Regions from separate parts of the Homo sapiens genome. Here region 2 is linked to region 1. The links are contacts of gene promoters, found by promoter capture Hi-C in human tissues and cell types (Jung and others, 2019). All regions are on one chromosome and are shown on one strand. The core of a region is centred on a gene start or on the middle of the fragment in contact, and the rest is flanking DNA. Distances in the headings are between cores, read along the strand shown.

Region 1 (4,902 bases), core at 1,734-4,233:
GAGAATCGCTTGAACCCGGCAGGCGGAGGTTGCAGTGAGCCGAGATCGCGCCACTGCACTCCAGCCTGGGCGAGAGAGTGAGACTTTGTCTCAGAAAAATAAAAAATAAGTAAATAAATAAATAAAAATAAGTTTCTAACAAACCCTTTAAAGATTCTGGTACAAGGAGGTTGGGGGGAACTCCATCTAATCCTCTCATACAGGTGACTCCTGGTAAACCAAGAAGCAGCTCTTCCTCTAACCTAATCTAAATCCTTTCTGCTGCCACTGTAATCACCCCGCCTTGCCTGCCTTTTTTGGTCAGGAATAAAATATCCCTAAACTTTTTTTATTTCTGCTGTTGGATTTAGGCCAGTGAAAATAAGGCACCCCAGGGGTTAAGTGAAATTTGAGCTTATCATTATTTCAGTTCATTCCTTGCTACCCTGGACCTTGTTGTCTCCTCCCACTGTGAACTATGAATTTAGAGGAGCTTCTGGGTCACTCAGGCAACGGAAGACAGGACTGCCATTCTCCTGTTTATTTATTCAAAATGTGTTTATACCAAGTGGATGACTATACGGAGCAACTGAAACTCTCCTACACTACTGTTGGGAACGTTTAGTTGTGCAATCACTTCGGAAAACAGTTTGGTAGTTTCTTGTAAAGTTAAAACATAGACTTACCGTATGATCCAGCAATCCCACTTCCAAGTGTTTATCTGAGAGAAATAAAAACATATATCCCCAAAGACTTGCACAAGAATGGTTACTACTGCTTAAACTAGAATCAATTTTTTTTTTTGAGATGGAGTCTTGCTCTGTCACCCAGGCTGGAGTGCAGTGGTGCCATATCAGCTCGCTGAAACCTCTGCCTCCCAGGCTCAAGCAATCTTCTCACCTTAGCCTCCCAAGTAGCTGGGACTACACGCATGAGCCACCACGCCTGGCTACATTTTTGTATTTTTTGTAGAGACAGGGTTTTGTTATGTTGCCCAGGCTGGTCTGGAACTCCTGAGCTCAGGCGATCCACCCACCTTGACCTGCCGAAGTGCTGGGATTGTGGGCGTGAGCCACCATGCCTGGCCAAAAACTAGAACCAGCTCTAATGTTTGTCAGTATAAATTGTGGCATATCCATGTGCTATGCTACTTGGCACTGAAAAGGAATAGACTTGATATTATCAACAGCATGGATAAACCTCAAAAACATTATGCTGAGTTAAAACACCTTATTCATAAAAGAACACACTATATGGTTATCTTTTTTCTTTATATATACTTAATACATTAATATACTTAATTCATATTAATACACATTTTTTCTGATTGCTTTTTAACTGTTAATGATTGTGCTTTCTTTTGAACTCCAGTAAGTTTTGTTATTAAAATGTAACATACAATGTAAAGTGCTTAAGATATAGGTGTGTAGCTTAATAACTATTTACTAATTAATCCATCTGTGTTAATCACTTTGCTGATCAAGATATAAACATTTCTAGAAAATCTTTCTCATATCTCCTTACAGGCTATATACCCTCTGAATGGAACCAGTTACTTACTTCTCTCACTTTAGGTTAATTTTCCCTGGTTTTAAACTTTATATGTTTGGAATCACACAAGTTATATTGCATATTTAAGCTAAATATTTTATCTTGTTATAAATATTGCTTTGAGACGGAGTTTTGATTTTGTTGCCCAGGCTGGAGTGCAGTGGCTCAATCTCGGCTCACTGCAACCTTCACCTCCTGGGTTCAAGCGATTCTCCTGTCTCAGCCTCCCAAGTAGCTGGGATCATAGGCGCCTGCCACCACGGCCAGCTAATTTTTGTATTTTTAGTAGAAACGGTGTTTCACCATGTTGGCCAGGCTGGTCTTGAACTCCTGACCTCAGGTGATCCACCAGCCTCTGCCTCCCAAAGTGTTGGCATTACAGGCGTGAGCCACCGCGCCCAGCCTGTTAGATGCTTTTCTTGCTTAGTACTATCTCATTAACATTTTGCAATTATATTATATTATATTATATTATATTATATTATATTATATTATATTATTTTTGAGACGGGGTCTTTCTCTGTCCCCCAGGCTGGAGTGCGGTAGCATGATCAGGGCTCACTCCAGCCCTGCCTCCTGGGCTCGAGGGATCCTTCCACCTCAGCCTCCCAAGGAGGTGGAACTACAGGTGCGTGCCACCACGCCTGGCTAATTTTTGTATTTTTTTTGTAGAGATATGGTTTCATTATATTGCCCAGGCTGGTCTCTAATTCCTGAGCTCAAGAGATCCACCCGCCTTGGCCTCCATATTTTGCAATTATAATCTGCAATGGAATCATAATTTTAAATTGCTGTATTGTTTGTAATATGTGCTTGGTTATACTTATATAATTATAAGTTGGTTTGTAATATGTGCTTGGTTATACTTATATAATTATTCTCTCCTTTATTATACATGAGGTAAGAGAAGCTCAGGGAATCCATTCAGGCAGCAAGTGGAGAAACTAGCTCTCAAACCTGCATCTCAGGCTCTCATTCTTCCACTGCAAAAAAGCAAAGTGCTCAAAAAATATGGTCACAGATCTGCAGAAGTCTTGCACAAGGGCATTATCATAGCAATAAGAATGACTAATAAGTATTAACGGCCCATGAGAAAAGAACAAATACCATTAATTATCTCAATATATTAAGCATATTAGTAATGTTTGTACAGAATTATTCATGCAAATATTATTAGCCTGTGTCGGGGACAGTTGCTAAACTCAGCAACAGGCTCACAGCTCAGCTTCGTGCCTCTGGTTCCAGATGTGCAGGGGCCAGGGCTTCCAGGGACACGCCCCCGTGGGCCTCCAGGGAGCCAATCGACGCGCAGAAGGCGGGGCCCTGGGAGCGACAACGGTGTTATCCAATGGGCCGACAGCTGGAGCCGCCCCTGGCCAATGGGCGCGCTCCTCCGCGATGGGCGGAAGTGGTGAGGCAGCTCTGAGGGCCGTTGTTCAGTGCGGGGTCTGACAGAGGAGGCTCCGTGTCTGCAGCTAGTGTGTCAACTCAGCGTTTCTCCTCTCGTCCCTGGTGAGGTGTAGCGGCGGCACGCGGCTGGAGATCCCCTGTGGCCTCCAGTTTAGGAAGGGTCCAGCATCCCAAGGGAGGGGTGTGTGGGCGAGGGGTCTCTGGGCCCGGGGTCGCGGCTGTGAGGAGAGGATGCCCGCGCGGCGGCATCTCAGGCACCTGGAGGAGGCCGCGCTTTCTCCTCAGGGAACCGGCGCCTTGGCAGCCCCCGGCGACGCCGCCCCCTTCGCGGCCTAGGTTGGTCTGGTGAGCCGGGAAGCGGGCGTCGTTCGCAGCGCCGCTGTGACCACCGCGTCCCGGGCGGAGCTGGGCTCAGTGCCGGCCTGGGCCTAGAGTCCGAGCCTCGAGCTGCCGGCGTGGGGGGTCGCGAGTGGCCTAATGCGGCCTCGAAGCCGAAGGACCCGAGTCCGAGCTCGCACTCCGACCCGCTGGTGCTGTGGAAAACTCAGGTGGCCTTCCGCTTTCGTAGCCTCTAAAGTGGGGACCAAGACTTTCACCTCTTAGGATTGTAGTCGGGATTAAAAGATTTTCCCGGTAAGCGTTTGGCAACTGCTATTATTTGAGAAGCCGCTTACTTCTTCACTCCCCATCACCGACCTTCCTGGGGACGGGGGCGATTGGAAACTGCCTTGGGGTATCTGGACCCGGCAGGGGAAGCTCCGCCGCCTCGGGCAGAGGGACGGTCCCCTCTGCGGACTAGAGAGATCTAGCTGACCCCCAACAGGCTCCTTATAAGCTTGAAGACTTTTCTGTGCCTCAACTCTTCCGTGCATTCGCCCGTTTCCTTGACCCTTTGAAGTATTGTCAGTCCTCTGCCTGAAGAATCTGAGGCCCAGAGAGGTTAAATCTGGCAGAACCAGCCAGACCTTGACCCCCAGAGGGGGACCCTGCAGGCTACCCCCAGTCTCCTTGCATCTAGAAAAGCAAGCACCTGCTACATCTGAGCTCTGGCCTTAGAGTTGGCCAGAGTGGGCTGGAATAGAGCACACCTGAAATCAGTCGGACAGCCTTCCTTAGTTGCCATTTCATATCAGAGTGAATATCTTTTTTTTTTTTTGAGATGGAGTCACCTTCTGTTGTTCAGGTTGGAGTGCAGTGGCGAGATCTCAGCTCACTGCAGCCTCCGCCTCCTGGGTTTAAGTGATTCTCTTGCCTCAGCCTCCTGAGTAGCTGGGATACAAGCGCCCGTCACCACGCCCAACTAATTTTTGTATTTTTAGTAGAGACTTGGTTTTGCCATGTTGGCCAGGCTGGTCTCGAACCCCAGACCTCCAGTGATCTGCCCACCTCGCCCTCCCAAAGTGCTGGGATTACAGGCGTGAGCTGCTGCGCCCAGCCCAGAATGGGTGTCTTGAATTATGTCATTCCCTAGTTTAAAGCCCTTCAGTGGTTTACCATTGAGCTTGGAATCGAATCCAATATTCTTTCTGTCTGATATGACAAGACCTTCTTGAGTCATTCCCCTTTTTTATTATGCTCTTCCAGATCTGCCTTTACTTTCTCTTTCATTGCTTTTAGGCCTTTTGCCCTTCCCACTGCCTGGATGGATTTCCCCGCATTCCCATCCTCTATCTTTGTCTTTTCGTGGTTGGCTCTTGTACTTCAGTTCTTAATTTAAATGTCGTCTCCCCAGAAAGTTCTTCCCTGACCACTCTTATCTACCTAAAGTAGATTTGCCTCTATTCCGCCCCCATTTATTTGTCAGTATACTTTTCCATCACAATACTCAAGTTATATGTATTTTTTTGCTTATTGTTTTTCTCTACCACTAAATCGCTTTATCAGAGACTATATTTCCTTATTTTGTAAAGTATTTTTAGTGCCAGGGCACAGTGGCACACAGTATGGTCTTCTTTTTCTTTG
Region 2 (4,902 bases), core at 839-3,338, 540 kb before region 1:
TGGCTCACGCCTGTGGTCCCGGCACTTTGGGAGGCTGAAGCAGGCGGATCACCTGAGGTCAGGAGTTCGAGACCAGCCTGGCCAAAATGGGGAAACCCCGTCTCTACTAAAAATACAAAAATTAACCCGGTGTGTGACCAATATCTGTACTCCCAGCTACTCAGGAGTCAGGCAGGAGAACTGCTTGAACCTGGGAGGCGGAACTACAGTGAGCAGAGATGGCGCCATTGCACTCCAGCCTGGGTGACAAGAGCAAAACTCCATCTCAAAAAAAAAAAAAAAAAAAAAAAAAAAAACCTCCCAGAATGGTATACTTGTTGAGCTCTTGTGTCTGTTTTTTAGTAGTTCCCATTTTAGTAGTTCCCAGGCTCTTTGCTTTGTTTTTTTGAGATAAGGTCTCATTTTAACGCCCAGGCTGGAGTGCAGTGGTGCAATCATGGCTCACCTCGACATCCAGACTTAAGTGAACCACCTGCCTCAGCCTCCCAAGTAGCTGAGACTACAGAAGTGCACGACCATGACTGGCTAAATTTTTTGTATTAATATTTTTTGTTGAGATGGGGTTTCCCTGTGTTGCCCAGGCTGGACTTGAACTCCTGGGCTCAGGTAATCTGCCTGCTTCAGCCTCCCAAAGTGTTGGGATTACAGGTGTGAGCCACCATGCCCAGCCACCAGTCTTCCAAACTTTTTTTTTTTTTTTGAGACAGAGTCTCACTCTGCTCTGTGGCCCAGGCTGGGGCACAGTGGCACAATCTGAGCTCACTGCAACCTTCACCTCCCGGGTTCAAGCGATTCTCCTGCCTCAGCCTCCCAAGTAGCTGGGATTACAGGCGCCCGCCCAGCCCCAAGTCTGGTTTTTTTTTTTTTTTTTTTTTTTTAGACGGAGTCTCCCTCTGTCGTCAGTGCAGTGGCCCGATCTCGGCTCACTGCAACCTCTGCCTCCCGGGTTCAAGCAATTCTCCTGCCTCAGCCTCCCGAGTAGCTGGGACTACAGGCACACATCACCACGCCCATTTAATTTTTTTGTATTTTTAGTAGAGATGGGGTTTCACCCTGTTGGCCAGAATGGTCTCAATCTCTTGACCTTGTAATCCGCCCTCCTCAACCTCCCAAAGTGCTGGGATTACAGGGGTGAGCCACCACGCCCGGCCCTTTTTCTGTTTTTCAGTAGAGACAGGGTTTCACCATGTTGGCCAGACTGGTCTCGAACTCCTGACCTCAAGTGATCCACCCTCCTTGGCCTCCCAAAGTGCTGGGATTACAAGCGTGAGCCACCGCACCCAGCTAAGTCTTTCAACTTTCTATCACGCTACTGTTATTTCTCATTGCTGTTAATATATCTGCCTCTGAAAACATTGCTTTTCTACTTGCTGCCAATATGTACATCAGAAAAGAAAGCTAGATAGAATCATGTGTAAAGTAAAAGTTCTCAAAGAGGCCATAAAGAACTCTCCAGACCAGAGGCTAAAGCAGGAGGACAGTTTAAGCCCAGAAGTTGGAGGCCAGCCTGGGCAACATAACAAGACCCCCATTTCTACCAAAAAAAAAAAAAAAAAAAAGAACTCCCCTTTCTAAAATCTGCTCAAGCTTCAGTGAAAAGACATTTAGTCTTCAATTCCTGATTTCGAAATGTGTTTCAGGAATGAAAATAGTTAACTGCACAAAGTCCACAGCAAATGTTTATAAACCCGAAAAGAAAAATGCAGTACTTGTTTCAAAACCCGCCCTTTATAAAAAACTAAAATTATAATCAAGATTAATTCCACTTAGAAAAATTATTAAGAATATTTTAACATGACTTTAAAAAGCAATATGAAAAACGTCAATGAAAAATATTTGACCTGGCCAGCCACGGTGCCTCACACATGTAATTAAAGCACTTTGGGAAAACTAGGTGGGTGGATCATTTGAATTTAAGAGTTTGAGACCAGCCTGGGCAACATGGCTAAACCCTGTCTCTACAAAATATACAAAAGCCAGGCATGGTGGCATACACCTGTAGTTCCAGCTACTCGGGAGACTGAGGTAGGAGGACTGCTTGAGCCCAGGATGTTGAGGCTGCAGTGAGCCATGACCATACCACTATACTCCAACCTGGCCAACAGGGTAAGACTCAGTCTCAAAAAAAAGGAAATTTAAAAAAAAACTGATCATTGGCAACACTGTTCAATAAAGCCTCTCAAGGCAATGGTTTCAGGAGACCAACATTCTAAAGTTCTGATACAGTTAATAAAAATAAACCACGTTCACTTATATTGCCGACAAGCCTCATACCACAACTAATGAGTTTTACAAAGACTTCATTATAGAATGAAATTTTATTACATTCCCAAAATGTAGTTAGCTATTAATCATGGCACGAAACTGACATTTTCGGGCTGGACACAGTGGCTCACACCTGTAACACCAGCATGTTAGGAGGCCTAAGTGGGGTGGATCACTCGAGGCCATGAGTTCAAGATCAACATGGCAAAACTCCACATCTACTGAAAATACAAAAAAACTAGGCAGGCACTGTGGGGCGCACCAGTAGTTCCAACTACTTGGGAGGCTGAGGTGGGAGGATGGCTTGAACCCGGGAGACAGAGGTTGCAGTGAGCCGTATTTGCAACACTGCACTCCAGCCTTAGCAACAGAGCCAGATCCTATCACAAAAATAAATAAATAAATAAATAAATAAATAAATAAAACAAATTGACATTGTAAAGTCACTTGACACAACTTCAGGGTTAAAATTACAAGCAATCTATGTAAGAATCTTTAAATGTTAATGAGAATTTCAAATTTTCACATGAATGCAAACACAAATAATTACCAGCAAATAAAAAGTTAAGGTTGCCAGGCATGGGAGGCCAAGGCAGGTGGATCACTTGAGGCCAGAAGTTCCAGACCAGCCTGGCCAATATGGTGAAACCCCATCTCTACTAAAATACAAAAATTAGCCAGGCGAGATGGTGCGTGCCTGCAGTCCCAGCTACTCAGGAGGCTGAGGCAGAAAAATCGCTTTAACCTGGGAGGCAGAGGTTGCAATGAGCCGAGATCGCACCACTGCACTCCAGCCTAGGTGACAGAGCGAGACTCCGTCTCGGAAAAAAAAGAAAAAAAAAAAGTTAAGGTTAACAGCTGTGACAAGTTTTCATAAACAACCCAGACTCATAAAAAAAATACCAAACCAGGCCGGACGCGGTGGCTCATGCCTATAATCCCAGCACTTTGGGAAGCCGAGGCGGGCAGATCAAGAGGTCGGGAGATTGAGACAATCCTGGCTAACACAGTGAAACCCCATCTCTACTTAAAATGCATAAAAAAAATTAGCCGGGCATGGTGGCGGGCGCATGTAGTCCCAGCTACTCGGGAGGCTGAGGCAGGAGAATGGCATGAACCTGGGAGGTGGAGCTTGCAGTGAGCTGAGATTGTGTCACCGCACTCTAGCCTGGGCGACAGAGCGAGATTTCTCAAAAAAAAAAAAAAAAAAAAAAAAAAAAAAAAACTAAACCAAACTGGTCACGGTGGCTCACACCTGTAATCCCAGCACTTTGGGAGGACGAGGCGGGTGGATCATCTAAGGTCAGGAGTTCGAGACCAGCCTGGCCAACATGATGAAACCCCATCTCTACTAAAAATACAAAAATTAGCCAGGCATGGTGGCACACAGCTGTTATCCCAGCTACTCAGGAGGCTGAGGCAGGACAATCACTTGAACCTAGGAGGCGGAGGTTGCAGTAAGCCGAGATCACATCACTGCATTCCAGCCTGGGTGACAGGGTAAGATCCTGCAACACACACACACAAACAATAATAATAATTTAAAAAACCAGCCAGGCATAGTGGCTCACACCTGTAATCCCAGCACCTTGGGAGGCCAAGGAGGGCAAATTGTTTGAGGTCAGGAATTCAAGGCCATCCTGGGCAACAGGTAAAATCTCTGTCCCTACAAAATAAAAACAAACAAAAAAGCTAGGCGCAGTGGCTTATGCCTGTAATTCCAGCACTTCAGGAGGCCAAGGTATATGGATCACCTGAGGTCGGGAGTTCGAGACCAGCCTGGCCAACATGATAAAACCCCATCTCTACCAATAATACAAAAATTAGCCAGGTGTAGTGGCGCATGCCTATAATCCCAGCTACTCGGGAGGCTGAGGCATGAGAATCATTTGAACGCAAGAGGCAGAGGTTGCACTGAGCCGATATCCTGCCACTGCACCCCACCCTAGGCAACAGAGTGAAACAAAAATTTTGCTGGGCATAGTGGCGCATGCCTGTGGTCCCAGCTACTCAGGAGGCTGAGATAGGAGGATCACTTGGGCCTGAGAACTCGAGGTTGCAATGAGCCATGATGGCACCACTGCACTCCCGCCTGGGTGACAGAGCTAGAACCTGTCTCAAAAAAATAAGGCGAGGCGCAGTGGCTCATGCTGTAATCCCAAAACTTTGGGAGGCCAAGACAGGCAGATCACCTAAGGTCAGGAGTTCAAGACGAGCCTGGCCAACATGGTGAAACCCCATCTCTACTAAAAAAAAATACAAAAATTTGCCAGGTGTAGTGGTGCATGCCTGTAATCCCAGCTACTCAGGAGGCTGAGGCAGGAGAATCACTGGAACCTGGGAAGTGGAGGTTACAGTGAGCCGAGATTATGCCACTGCTTTCCAGACTGGGTGACAGAGTGAGACTCTGTCTCAAAATAAATAAATAACCAAGGATTTAACATTTATGTAGATTTCACACCACGTAAGTACAGAACCACATACATTAAAAACAAAGAAAAGAAAATAGACCTCCTATTTTAGCAAGCCAAAATCAAGGTTACAAAAAGATATCCTGAAGGGCAAGTACTGTCCGTGACTGTATTCCATAAAACAAGCCTGTTAGGGGGCCGGACGCAGCAGCTCACGCCTGTAATT

Evidence for each region. Contacts are between HindIII fragments. The study calls those that stand out against the background at their distance.
Region 2: a contact is called between a fragment that was not itself captured here and the fragment with the promoter of TRAFD1 in region 1, in 1 of the 25 tissues and cell types used here (H1 embryonic stem cells).

Annotation. Positions count from the first base shown.
Region 1 is chr12:112,122,577-112,127,478 of GRCh38, forward strand. It overlaps TRAFD1 (TRAF-type zinc finger domain containing 1), which reads left to right and starts at 2,984. Exons shown (of 12, transcript NM_006700.3): 1 at 2,984-3,042. RefSeq lists enhancers at 2,709-3,003, 2,981-3,030, 3,441-3,510. The HindIII fragment of the contact is 10,449 bases long and covers 1-4,902 here.
Region 2 is chr12:111,585,535-111,590,436 of GRCh38, forward strand. The region is part of intron 1 of ATXN2 (ataxin 2); the gene reads right to left. Among named protein-coding and RNA genes, the nearest start is that of ATXN2, 11 kb to the right of the region's middle. The HindIII fragment of the contact is 3,592 bases long and covers 293-3,884 here.